3 separate regions of the Homo sapiens genome follow, and regions 2 and 3 are each linked to region 1. The links are contacts of gene promoters, found by promoter capture Hi-C in blood cells and fetal thymus (Javierre and others, 2016). All regions are on one chromosome and are shown on one strand. Each heading gives the region's core, a stretch centred on a gene start or on the middle of the fragment in contact. The rest is flanking DNA. Distances are from core to core; before and after follow the strand shown.

What was found. The method cuts DNA at HindIII sites, captures the fragments that hold promoters and counts their contacts. A CHiCAGO score of 5 or more calls a contact.
Region 2: a fragment that was not itself captured here is called in contact with the fragment with the promoter of BRINP2 in region 1 in 1 of 17 cell types (endothelial precursors); the score reaches 6.3 in endothelial precursors.
Region 3: a contact is called between a fragment that was not itself captured here and the fragment with the promoter of BRINP2 in region 1, in 1 of 17 cell types (endothelial precursors). The highest score is 5.4, in endothelial precursors.

Annotation. Positions count from the first base shown.
Region 1 is chr1:177,169,191-177,173,200 of GRCh38, reverse strand. BRINP2 (BMP/retinoic acid inducible neural specific 2) reads right to left here and starts at 2,243. Exons shown (of 8, transcript NM_021165.4): 1 at 1,469-2,243. RefSeq lists enhancers at 1,427-2,015, 2,016-2,605. The HindIII fragment of the contact is 5,424 bases long and covers 376-4,010 here.
Region 2 is chr1:177,764,809-177,768,725 of GRCh38, reverse strand. No RefSeq gene overlaps it. Among named protein-coding and RNA genes, the nearest start is that of LINC01741, 66 kb to the right of the region's middle. The HindIII fragment of the contact is 848 bases long and covers 915-1,762 here.
Region 3 is chr1:177,869,711-177,873,869 of GRCh38, reverse strand. No RefSeq gene overlaps it. Among named protein-coding and RNA genes, the nearest start is that of SEC16B, 98 kb to the left of the region's middle. The HindIII fragment of the contact is 515 bases long and covers 1,783-2,297 here.

The DNA.
Region 1 (4,010 bases), core at 994-3,493:
ATGCCCTCAGTGCTGCAAAGCAACTTATTCTGGGTGAAGGGGGACTCCAGAGGGTCATGCCTTAAACAAATAACATACACACAACTGTGTGAGTCAGGAGGGAAAGCACACAAACTCCAGCATCACTTTGCTGTTGCCTGATGTCATCAGACTGCCCCCCGGGGGATTTGGTATACTTTAGTTGCTTGGTTAATACTGGCATTGCATGTATTTTAGCGAGCATGGTCAGAGAGAGTCACTTCAACATGCACATGTCTGGAGAAGGACAGAAGCAGAAATACTTGACTTATAATATACCTTTTATCCCTCTGATTGGTCTATGCTGACATAACAATGTCCCTGCTGAATAAGGCCTAGATTACCCAACTATAAGCTTGACCTTTTATAATTGTTATCCTTTTAACAAAACATTTGTTTCTGCTCATAGCACCCTGCTCCTAGGGCTGCAAAGAGCACACACACAATTCTTTACAGAGGGGTCTGTTCAATCACATTACAGTGCATTAGCTTGAACATTGGTTAACATTTGGCTTAGGTCTATATACCCTGGATAAATATGTACCATGCAGAGGGACTGCTTGGTGAGGAGAAGAGTCCTCTGGGCTGGAACAACAGCTCACAAGTTCGTGTTCCTACTAGGCAGGAACACTCCAGGCATCCGTGATTTGGACAGGGTGCTGGACATGCTTGGTTCTTCTGTGGGCAGCCTGTTTCCTGCATACAGCTGTGAGCACAAGCACACATACATACACACACCACAGGCAGCATTCGACAGTGTACCCAGATGATCACAAAAACAGAGACAGAGATCTGCTAGATGATACCAGCACATCCCACCTTTCAGCACAGCAATGTTCTTCCCTAGTGTCTCCAGTGCTCTGCCAGGCTCAAGTCAATCAATGGGGCTTCTGCCACCACCCTGGGGAGACTATTTGCAACCTACAGGGTTCACTGTTTGGAATTTTATTTTCCTGACTGCATGTGCATGGGAAACATGCCATAGGGCTCTATGAGCACGATAATATAGATATCGTGCATTGTAACCTCAGCTCTTTGGGCTCCTTCCCAAACATAATGAACCTCCCAGCGTCAGCTGGGCAGGCAAAAGTCCTCGTCATCTTCTGCAATTATGCAGCCCTATTGAATTTTCTGAAGCTAATAGGAGTTGCACTAACTTTGAGGACTTAAACCAGGCAAAAGCAATATAGGTCAGGCAGGGAGCCCAAACCCTCTGACAGCCATGCAACACCAGGAGGCAATACCAGAGCAATCTCTAGCTCAACCCCAAAGTCCATTGCTCAACTCCACAAGACAGAAACTAGGAGAGGTGGCATCATTCCCTCTGCCTGCCACTGCCAGGCACCAGGGCAAGAGGGTTGTATGAGAGCAAAATGGTCCCTTTACCAACGGACACACCAAAAAGGACAATGAAAAGGGGAGAAAAATCACCGAAACCCTGCACTGTTACCTTGAATCCTTGCAAGAGCCCTCCTTGCTGTATCAGCTGCTCCCCAAACCTTCAACGACTGGGAGGAGACTCCTAAAAGATTCCAGGTTTTTGTGCAACATCTCCAGTGGCAGCTTTCCAAAGTTTTTACTTCATGATTTCTTGTGGTTCTTTCTCATTTGGGGAAACGCGAATGCCTCCCCCTCAGCGTGTGAGAGGGAGCGGATGTCTCTTTTCAAATTCTCTTGCTCCCCGCTTTACTGTCGGTGCCGCCGCCGCCGCCACCGCCACCGCCGCCAACGTTAGACCACTTGCCTGCTGCCTTCCCGCTGAGCAGCCAGGATCCCGGTCTCCCAGAGCATCTTTGAAGTGGGGCTTCGGCACTGGGCCGGGGCGCACGCGGGGTGGGAGAGGTAAGGGAAGTGCAAGACCCAACTGGGGGAGTCCCCTGTCCCTCCGCCGAGGAGAAACCCAAGATTTTGCCTTCTTTCCAACTCTAAAGAGACTCACCCACCCGCTCTCTCACCCGAAATCACTGCCTTGCACATGGGCAGAGACAGGTCTTCCGGCTTCACCGCTCCCTCGGCTGCCTGCAGACCTGCCACTGACCTCGGAGCGCACGGCAGGTGCACATCCCCGGGCAAGTCCTAATGGGATCCTCCGAGCTCAGCGTAAGCGCTGCCAGCGCAGCGGCGAGCAGCTTGCGAGGCAGGCGGATTGCATCCCAGAGCTGCAGCCCGGCGCGTCCCCGCTCCGACTCCGCGCTCCGTACCTAAGCAGTGTCACCTGCAGACTCAGACACCAGATGAGTGTCTTAAGATAACAATGCTGCCCTGCCTGCCTCTCTCTTTCTTTCTTATGCATGTAGGTTGGCAGCCAATGGGACACAGCGCCACACTCCCCACAGGTGCCCATTGGCTGGGCGGCTTGGCAGGGGGCGGGCTCTGAGCCTCACCGCTCTCTCCTTTGGTGAGCTGGCAGGCTGGGGTACCAGCTCTGTTAACCCTCCCAGCGTTGCAGTGGGGACTTTTTGGTGTGTATAAGGAAGCCTTGGGTACATTCACGGGTGGGGCGTTGGACACTCTTAAAAAGGCTGGGGAACAAGAAGTAGCTGGGGAGCTAATTACATTTTCTTCTAATCTTCCTGAGTTACAATAATCATTTATCCCAGCCCATTTTGTTTGCTTGCTTAACTAGAACTCCCAGAGATTGGGACCCATCTGAGCCATTTTCCATCTAATTTGAGGTTTCATTTGGTTGTTTTGTGCATTTTTTAGCCTCTTGGATTACTTAATTAGAAATGAGCCCCCAAGTGAGAAATAGTACACACACACACACACACACACACACACACACACACCCCAGAGACCCAAGAGGAGAGAGAGGCAAAAGAGAGCAAGAACCCAGTAAGATGGCTAGAGAGTGAAACAGATTTAGAGGCCAGGACAGCTAAATCAGGAAACATTCTGCCCCCACACCAGGACTGTAAGGACAAAGGCAAAGAGGAGAACTTCAGGTTTCTGGGGAGAGATTAAGTTTCAAAAATGTCCCTCCAAAAAAGGGAATTGTTTTGCCTGTGGTGTTTTCCCTCTGTGTGTCTCCTTTCACTTCTGTGTGTGTCAGGAAGAGGGACTGTGCATCTCCGTTTAGTTTTTAAAGGAAGACTAGAGAAATCAGAACAGGACCAGCCTTGTTTCTGTGAAGCAGGTGCTGTTGCTGGGCCTGTGAATTGAAAGAGAGGGAGGGAGGAAAAAAGGGAGGGAGGTGGAGGGAAAAGGGAGGAAAGGAGAAGGGAAGAAAATATTAACTTTACATTGAAGTGTGAAGTATATATTTTTGATATCCTAATGAGGGTACAAAACTGAAACATGTCCCGCTAACTAGCATACTAAACTAGATTTTGGCAGGAGCATAGGAAAAAGAGTAATAGTTGAAGAAAAATCCAATTCAAGGGAAGAGCTGGGGGCTGGAGCTGGGGAAGGAACTTGGGAGATCCATGCTAAGTCATGTGGTGGGGGAAGTATGAAGAAGATAAATATATAGTCAGAAAGCGAGAGGAGTCTTTCAATTTAGTTTCCTTAAATGGAGAGCAACATCGGAGATTATTTTGTAAAGAACTAGAAAAAAAAAGTATGTAGAGATTTAATGAATGTGTAAGAAGTACACATGGAGATTAGCTAAACTGCATCAAGTAGCCGTAAGTTCTGAATGAATAAAGAAAAATTAGAAATTTTCTTCATTCATCCCCTCAGACTCACACATCTATCACTTTCACCTATATTTTCTTCTCTGTATCTTATACAACGTTGAACTTCCTTCTGCATACTGCAAGTATCTGTTTGCCTAAGCTACAAAACATGTCAGAGAATGGTGGTCCCACAGGGTCCTGAGCTCTCTTTCTAGAATAAAATAACCAAGAGAACCACTGAGAGCCTAAATCTATTGCTACCCAACTGCTGAGTTATTTACTTTTGTGATTTCTAGAGGCAGAGACCCACTGAACTTGTCCCAAGTGACAACATACTGAAATGTTAAAATAGCATAAGGGAGTGGGTAAATAGAG
Region 2 (3,917 bases), core at 89-2,588, 600 kb before region 1:
TGTTTATTTGCAGATTCATCTCATACTAAGAGAGAATTCCTTGAGATTCTATCTGTCTTTTGTTACGCTACTAAGGGAATGGTGAGTGTGTGGCGATACTGCTTCATGTCTGTGCCCACTAGAAGAATGATTCCAGGTATTGGACACCCTGATACCCTCTTCAGTGGCCTGGAGAGTTGATGGCCAAGGGATCATAGCCACTCAGTGGGAAATCAGCTGTATTTCATTCCTTTTCCCGAACTAGCACTTCTGTCTCAGTAGGGGCCCTGTTAATGAATCAATTAAGGAGGGTATTATTATTGGAAGTTGTTTTCAGACCAATTAAGACCTTTCGACATGTCAGTTGTGATAATAAAAGTGAGTTAAGTCTCCATTTTTCTTTATTAGGGTGTTTATTAGAAGATTGAAATGTTCATTAGGTGGAATAAAGCTATACATTCATCTTCTGCTCATCAGAAGCATAATGGAAACTCTATTGTCACTCAGGGCTAATGTGGTGGCCTTTTCTTACAGAGAGCTGAGTTCTAACCTTGCTTTGGCTGCAGGTAAAAATAAATTTGTGAGAGTCACAGTTCTGGCTAGGGAATTTTCTTTTGCCTGACATGAGCCTGGAAATGTCTGCTTGCTTAGGAGTAAGATAGTGGGTCAATGTACGGAATATTGATGAGCCATGCATGAGAACTGGGGAGGGTGGAAGCTTGTGCCAGACCGTGTGATGAGCCCAGGGACTAAAATTACAGATTTTGAAACTTTATAATTTTTGGCCATAAACATATTCAAATATATACAAAAATATAAGAAGTAAATTATTAACATCCATATAGCCTTCTCCCAGCCTTAACAAATTTTAACATTTCCCCCAAATTTACTTCCATTTTTTTGGTTGATAAAACATTGTAGATTTAGTTGAAGCTTCTTATGTAGCCCTCCTTGACTTCATACCCACTACCCACCCTGCATTCTCAAGAGTTAATGATCCTCCTGAATTTTATATTTATCGTCCCCTACAGGTTTTTATGCCATTACTCTACATATTCTCTGTGTGTATTTGTAAGAATATAAAGTAGTCTTTTGCTTGCTTCCAAACTTTGTATAAATTTTTATCATATGGTATATATCTTTTTGCATCTTGCTTTTATTCATGCAATATTTTGTTTTGGAGATTTATCCATGTTGACACATGAAGGTTTATTTACTTTCCTTGTTGTATAGTATTTCATTGTCTTCATATTTACCTCAAGGAATTTGTCCATTCTCCTGTTGGTGAACATGTTTACAATTTTTTCTGATTACAGATAATAACTGCAGTGAACATCCCTGTACATGTTTCCTTATGTACACTTGCAAGAGCTTCTCTACACTAGGGTTTCTCACACTAAAAAAGATAGAAATGCATTTTGCACTGCAACTTTTGCATGTGCACACACACACATATCCCACAAATGAAAGTTTACTGAAACGATACTTCTATATCCATGAAGAACTCTGATATCTGTTATATTCCGTCTATTCTGACTTATCCTATTCTATTTATTTCTTTTAATATTGCATTTCTTTTCAATTAAAAAATGCTGGTTGTGATTCACTAAATCAATTCACGATTCTATGGGTCACCGCATGCAGTTTTAAATGCACTATTCTGTGGTATATTACCAAAAAGTGAGAATTTTGGTCGTCTTCGTTTTACTATTCATAAATTGTTTTCCTAAGTGGCATGCTCTTTATTTTTAATTTTTGGGTGTTTTGCTTTAGGTATAAAGCTTTAGGTGTCTGCTTTAAGTGATAATAATCATATTTAAAACAAATTCCAATCTGATATTCTCTGATGTTTTATTGAAATTTTAATCTGTATACACACCATGAGATATTTGGACTTATTTTGATATTTTTGTTTTGTGTTTTTATCATCCTTGTCCCTTGCTTCTTTTATCTTTTTTCCTTCTTGCCTTCTGTTGATTGATAAATTTTCTATATTCCTACCATCAACTTCTTAGATTTTCCCTGCTGGTTTGGAAGATAAAGATTGTAGCACTATTCTTTTATTGATAGCTTCCCCTACCCTTTAAAAAATTCACACTCCATTATAAATATTTGTAAGTTCAAATTGTTAAGTAGTTTTATCCTTCTTCTGAATGTGGACCTAGTGCCCTTTATCCACTGAGCATAACTCTTGCATAGCTTCTTGTTATTGTCTAAAGTTTAGCTTTATTCATTCTTTAAACATACAAAAGTTGTCAACTTTTATGTCAATAGCTAATTAAATTTATTGATTTCAATACTTTTCTGTTCTCAAATCTTATTTCTGGCATTCCATGTTTACTCTCTGAATTCACTTTTCTTCTTGTTGAAGTACATCCTTTTGCATATCTTTTACTTTGTCTTTTTGCAATGGAAAATTACCTTTATTTTGTCAGTATTGAACAGTATTTTAACAGGCTCTATAATTCTAGGTTGACATTTATTTTTCCTTAGCATTTAAAAGACATAACTCCATTGTCATCTGTCTTCTATGCTGGTGGTGGGAAATCTACAGTCATTTGAAATGCCAGTTTTTAATTTTTAAGGCAATCTGGCTTTTCTTTCTGGAAGCTTTTAAGCTTTTTTCTCCCTTTTCTGTCCCTTTTCTTCTTGATGGTCTGCAGGTTCACCAGGAGTGTCAGATGTGGATTTGAATTTCTTTTTCCTGCTTAGTAGTCAGAGAATAGTCTTGATTTGATGACTCTTGCATTATTAAATTTTGGAAAATTCTTAGTTTTCTATTCTCTTCTGGAACATCTCCCGTTTTATTAGAAATCTTTCATTCTATTCTCTGTTTCTTAACTGCCTTTTAATGTGTATTTTCTCTGTGATATATTCTGAGTGAATTTCTTAATACAAGTTTTCATATATGAATCATCCTTTTGAATGTCCATGTTAGTGTTTATACCATTATGTGAAATTTAAATTTAATGATCTCTCTCATTTATAAGGTTTTAAATTGGGACCTCTTCATTTCCACTCAGTTTCTGTAGTTTCATAATTTCTTGCCCTTTTAAAATAGAAACTGTGCCTTATTAGTCTCTTGGAGTTTTCTAAACATAATTCTTTCAAAGTCTTTGTCAGACTGTTTTATAAAATTAATTTAATCTGGGATGGATTTATGTTCCAATGGGTGACTCTGTTAACTGTTTTTCTTTTTCTTTTTATTATTATTATTATACTTCAAGTTTTAGGGTACATGTGCACAATGTGCAGGTTAGTTACATATGTATACATGTGACATGCTGGTGCGCTGCACCCGCTAACTCGTCATCTAGCATTAGGTATATCTCCCAATGCCATCCCTCCCCCCTTCCCCCACCCCACAACAGTCCCCAGAGTGTGATGTTCCCCTTCCTGTGTCCATGTGTTCTCATTGTTCAATTCCCACCTATGAGTGAGAATATGCGGTGTTTGGTTTTTGGTTCTTGCAATAGTTTACTGAGAATGATGATTTCCAACTTCATCCATGTCCCCGCAAAGGACATGAACTCATCATTTTTTATGGCTGCATAGTATTCCATGGTGTATATGTGCCACATTTTCTTAATCCAATCTATCATTGTTGGACATTTGGGTTGGTTCCAAGTCTTTGCTATTGTGACTAGTGCCACAATAAACATATGTGTGCATGTGTCTTTATAGCAGCATGATTTATGGTCCTTTGGGTATATACCCAGTAATGGGATGGCTGGGTCAAATGGTATTTCTAGTTCTAGATCCCTGAGGTATCGCCACACTGACTTCCACAATGGTTGAACTAGTTTACAGTCCCACCAACAGTGTAAAAGTGTTCCTATTTCTCCACATCTTCTCCAGTACCTGTTGTTTCCTGACTTTTTAAAGATTGCCATTCTAACTGGTGTGAGATGATATCTCATTGTGGTTTTGATTTGCAT
Region 3 (4,159 bases), core at 791-3,290, 700 kb before region 1:
CAGTTTAACAGTTTTTTTTTAAGGTCACATAGCTAGTAAGTGCTAAGCTGTCTTCTACGGAATAAAAACCTTGGAGACAGGTGTGTTTATTTGTCTAAGTCTCAGCATCATATAGTAGCAGCAAAGAGAATAGGATCTATGGCTAGATGGCCTGGCTTTGAATCAGGATTCTGCTTCAGCAGCCTTGTGTAAATGTGAGCAAGTTGCTCAAACTCTGTACTCCAGTTTTGTCATCTGTATAATGGGATAATAAAGGCATTAAACTCACAGAGTTGAGTGAAATTCAGAGATAACATGTGGAAAGCATCTAGAACAGTGCCTGGCATATACAGTAAGTGCTCAACAGCTGTGAACTGTTATATACCATCTCTGTTGGAGGATGGGAGTACAGGAATGAATGAGTCACAGACTGTAATCAGCTGCAGACAAGGAGGAAGACAGATGGAGACATCATTGAAATAGGGAGCCACGGGGAAGGCAGGCGGGAGGCAGAGTAGCACACAGGCGGGGTGACTAATGATGAATTAGGGCCACTCCTGTGGTCCCAGATCTTTGGTCTTTCAGGCTCTCGTTTGCCGTGGCAGGATTTTCTTCCCTTTCCCTCAAGGGTTCAGGCATACACAAGAGTTATGAAATCTGGTTGTGGAGTTTCAGGATTGTGTTTTTCCTGACAGTTGGGTCAGGAAATTAAACACTTGAAAGCACAGAGCAGAGAGAGTAGAAAAAGTCTTTTATTTGCGTTTCTTGAATATTTAACGGTAGTTAAGTCCCGAGGCAAATATAATAGAAACTTGATTAGGAGATAAAAATCATGAAAGAAGAGAGCATGAGGTGTGTTCATACGCAGGATGAGTGCTTTCTCATATTCTAATTACACTGAGCCTTAGGAATGTGTAGGAGATTAGCTACTGCTGCACAAGATCTGTAAGATTTATAAGTATATGTATTTGGGTACATGCATCATATATAAAAGTTGAGATGGAGCAGAGAGAGGGAAAAAAAGAGGGAGAGAGAGAGATTGAATTTGAAACAGGAAACCAAGTTTCCAAATCTGAAGGGGCAGAAGGGAGCACAAAATACGTGGAGGAAATGTTTGATGTACATGCTCACGTCTTAGTTCCCAGCACAGCGTCTGGTCCATAATAGGCATTCAGCAAATATTTGCTCAATCTGAATAAATAGACGGTGTTTATTCTAGTTGGTACATTGAGGATAACCTCAATGACCTTCAGATTCTGAACTTAGGTATCCCCTCTGAGAATTTATCAGAAAAACAAGCAATAAGTGAGACCAACGTTGTGAGGTATTAACTCGGAACCGTCATCTATCCTTGTGGAGAAAAACCCGGAGGACTTGGATTAGGACCCAATAGTCTACCTTGGCGGCAGGTGAGAATCACCTGGGGAGCTTTTGAAACATGAGGCTGCCAGGCTGGACCTCACTCCAGACCAATTGAACCAGAATCTCTGAGGCGGGGCCTGGGTGTTGGTAATTTTCCTTTGAAACACTCCCCAGGTGATTCTAATGGAATCTAGGAGTGAGAATCACTGGGGGAAGGCATTTGTAGATGGGAAGGCTGGTGGCATCTGCTAGAAGACTTGATGTGTACTTGGCCAGAGATAAACCACAGGTCTGGCCTGAATGGGTGTGGAAATGTGTCAGTCATGTTTTCAGATTTCCAAGGTCATTTTCCAAGAGACCTCTGTGAGCTTGGACTGGATAGCGCAGCACAGGGCCAGCGATGGCAGCTGGAAGGGTGGCTGCCTAGGAAGGAGGTAAGCTTTAATAACTGAAATAGATGCTGCACTTTCATCTACTTAATTGCTATGATTTGAAGTCTCCCATAGCCTGAAACGAGGTACCCAGGGGAGGGTGTGAGAGAAGGGGAGGGTACTGAGGGATCCTGGGGCCCCTAGACCTTATCTCATGGAAGGTGCTGGGCTGGGTCAGCAGGACTCAATTGCCTGCTGCAAAGGCCTCAGTGCTCCCCAGAGATCCGGCTCCCCACAGAGGCACTGACTGCACCACACCCTGAGATCTCACTGCCGGTCTACAGCAGGACCATTAAGATAATCAAAGAGTCTCTGGGGAGTTTGTGGAGCGTGACTGTGACCACGGGAGCATATTTTATTTTGCCTTGAACCAAACTGCTAAGGAAGAATTCTCTTACATTTTCAACAGAAAGAGGGTATCAGTCAGCCAAATAGCCCTGAGCACACTTCTAGTTAGCTAACAGCATCCCAGAAAAATAGACCTGAAGTTTCTATAAGCAGCCTGTCTCCTTCGAGACCAAAGCTTTCTCTCAGTCAGGGATGTTGTTGGGCCCCATAGTAAATTTGGGGAGACCAGGGAAAATCCAGGCTCAGGAGAGGTAAATTTTCACTGTGCTTGAATCAGGAGAATCTGATTATCAACATCAACCCTTCTCTAAAATGAATTTAAACCAACATTTAAACATGCTTCCTGCCACCTGCCCCCACTCTATAGAATTTTTCCTCGACTCTCCCCACCCCCCTACTCTCTTTCCTTCCAACAACTCCATTTCAACCACACGCACTTGATAGAATATCACACACAGGCACATTTATTATTGACCAGCTTCTTTATCTCGGATAGTATGTCATGAGTAGTCAAGACTATAGCTCTTGAAGGTAGTTTCATAGATTTAAGATGAAGAAACAGTATCCATATAGTTCCAGAGTCAAGGTAGTCTAATAGCCAGTGAAAAAATACAAGCTGTTGGAGAGTGGAAGTTTACTCATGGGAGCTGGCTTGGACTTTAGATATGAAACATTTGATTTATAGTTTCTATTTCTCTCTGATAGAAAACTCTGCTAACCCTTATTGGAAGGTCGAATGTGTTGGGTTCTTTAGCTGAGGTAGCTGTTAAAATTTATTTCACATTCAAGGAAAGGGGCTCTTGTTATTAACCATGTTCCCATTTTAATTATGATTTTCCTGGCATCATTTTTAACAAGAATAACCTAAGGCCTGCAAGGAGTGATTTCCCCTAATCACTTCTTAAACCCTCCCTCCCCACCCCCAACTAACTGCTATAGCTACAGCTACACAGATGAAATGAAATGGAGACTTGAGCAATTACCTGGTGGATCTGAACAGTGTGGAGTCAGCAGTCAATTAGAATAGTTCAATTACAAAAATCCTTTTTTCTCCCTTCTTCTTTTCTGCTATAGAATTATCACCTTAACTCTTCCTCCTCCACCCACCCTGTGTTGAGGCCTCCTTTCTCATCCTTCTGCTTCCGTTGGCCCCAGACCCCTCTCTACTGGATGGCCCTGGCTCCTCTGCCAGCCTAGCCCTCATATCTATTCCTTTTTGGGGAGAGGCCTCGAATTCCTCCTCTCCCAATTGGATGGGCTTAAGATGGGGAACCTTGTGTTACGCTGACCCCTGAACCCTCACATCATTTCCCAGGTGTCAGTGTACCTTCAGAAAGCCTGTGCCTGAGGTCCTGAGCCACATCCCCCTGGCCTTCCATGTTGCTATTCTGAGATTCTCTTTGCACACCCCGTTGGCTACCCAGATCCATTCACCTACGGGGACACTACTTATTCTTGCCAGCTTCCTTCACCAGGGAGTGAGCCTGACCCTAGTCCAGTATGATGAGAGTGCCTGCCCCCAGACACAGAAGTCACAGATATGGGTGCCAGTAGGCCTTCTGAGTATGGCTGTACCTCCTGCCAACTGGGGCTCCAAGGACTTCCTCTTCACCACAGTGGCAAACACTTGCCTGGATGTTGATTACAGATAGATAGCCAGTCCCATCTTTGGATGATTCTCACTGTCAGCCATGTCTTTCTCCTTAGCAGAGGTCTCAAGCACCTCTCCTCTGGCATGTCTTGCTGGGAATATGATCCACCATACCAGATATGTATTCATCTATTCAGCCATTTAACACGTGTTTATTAAGCACTTACTATGTACCAAGCTTTCTGCTAGATGCTGGGGAAAACAACTTACAAACCCTTATTTACTCTTACATACGTATTCATATGTACCTTTAAGGAATGAGTATTAATTTGCCAGCAATGCCCTAACAAAATACCACAAAGCATGTTTAAACTTGGCTTAAACAACAAAAAATTTATTTCGTCACAGTTCTGAAGGTTAGAAGTCCAAAATCAAGGTATTCGCAGGG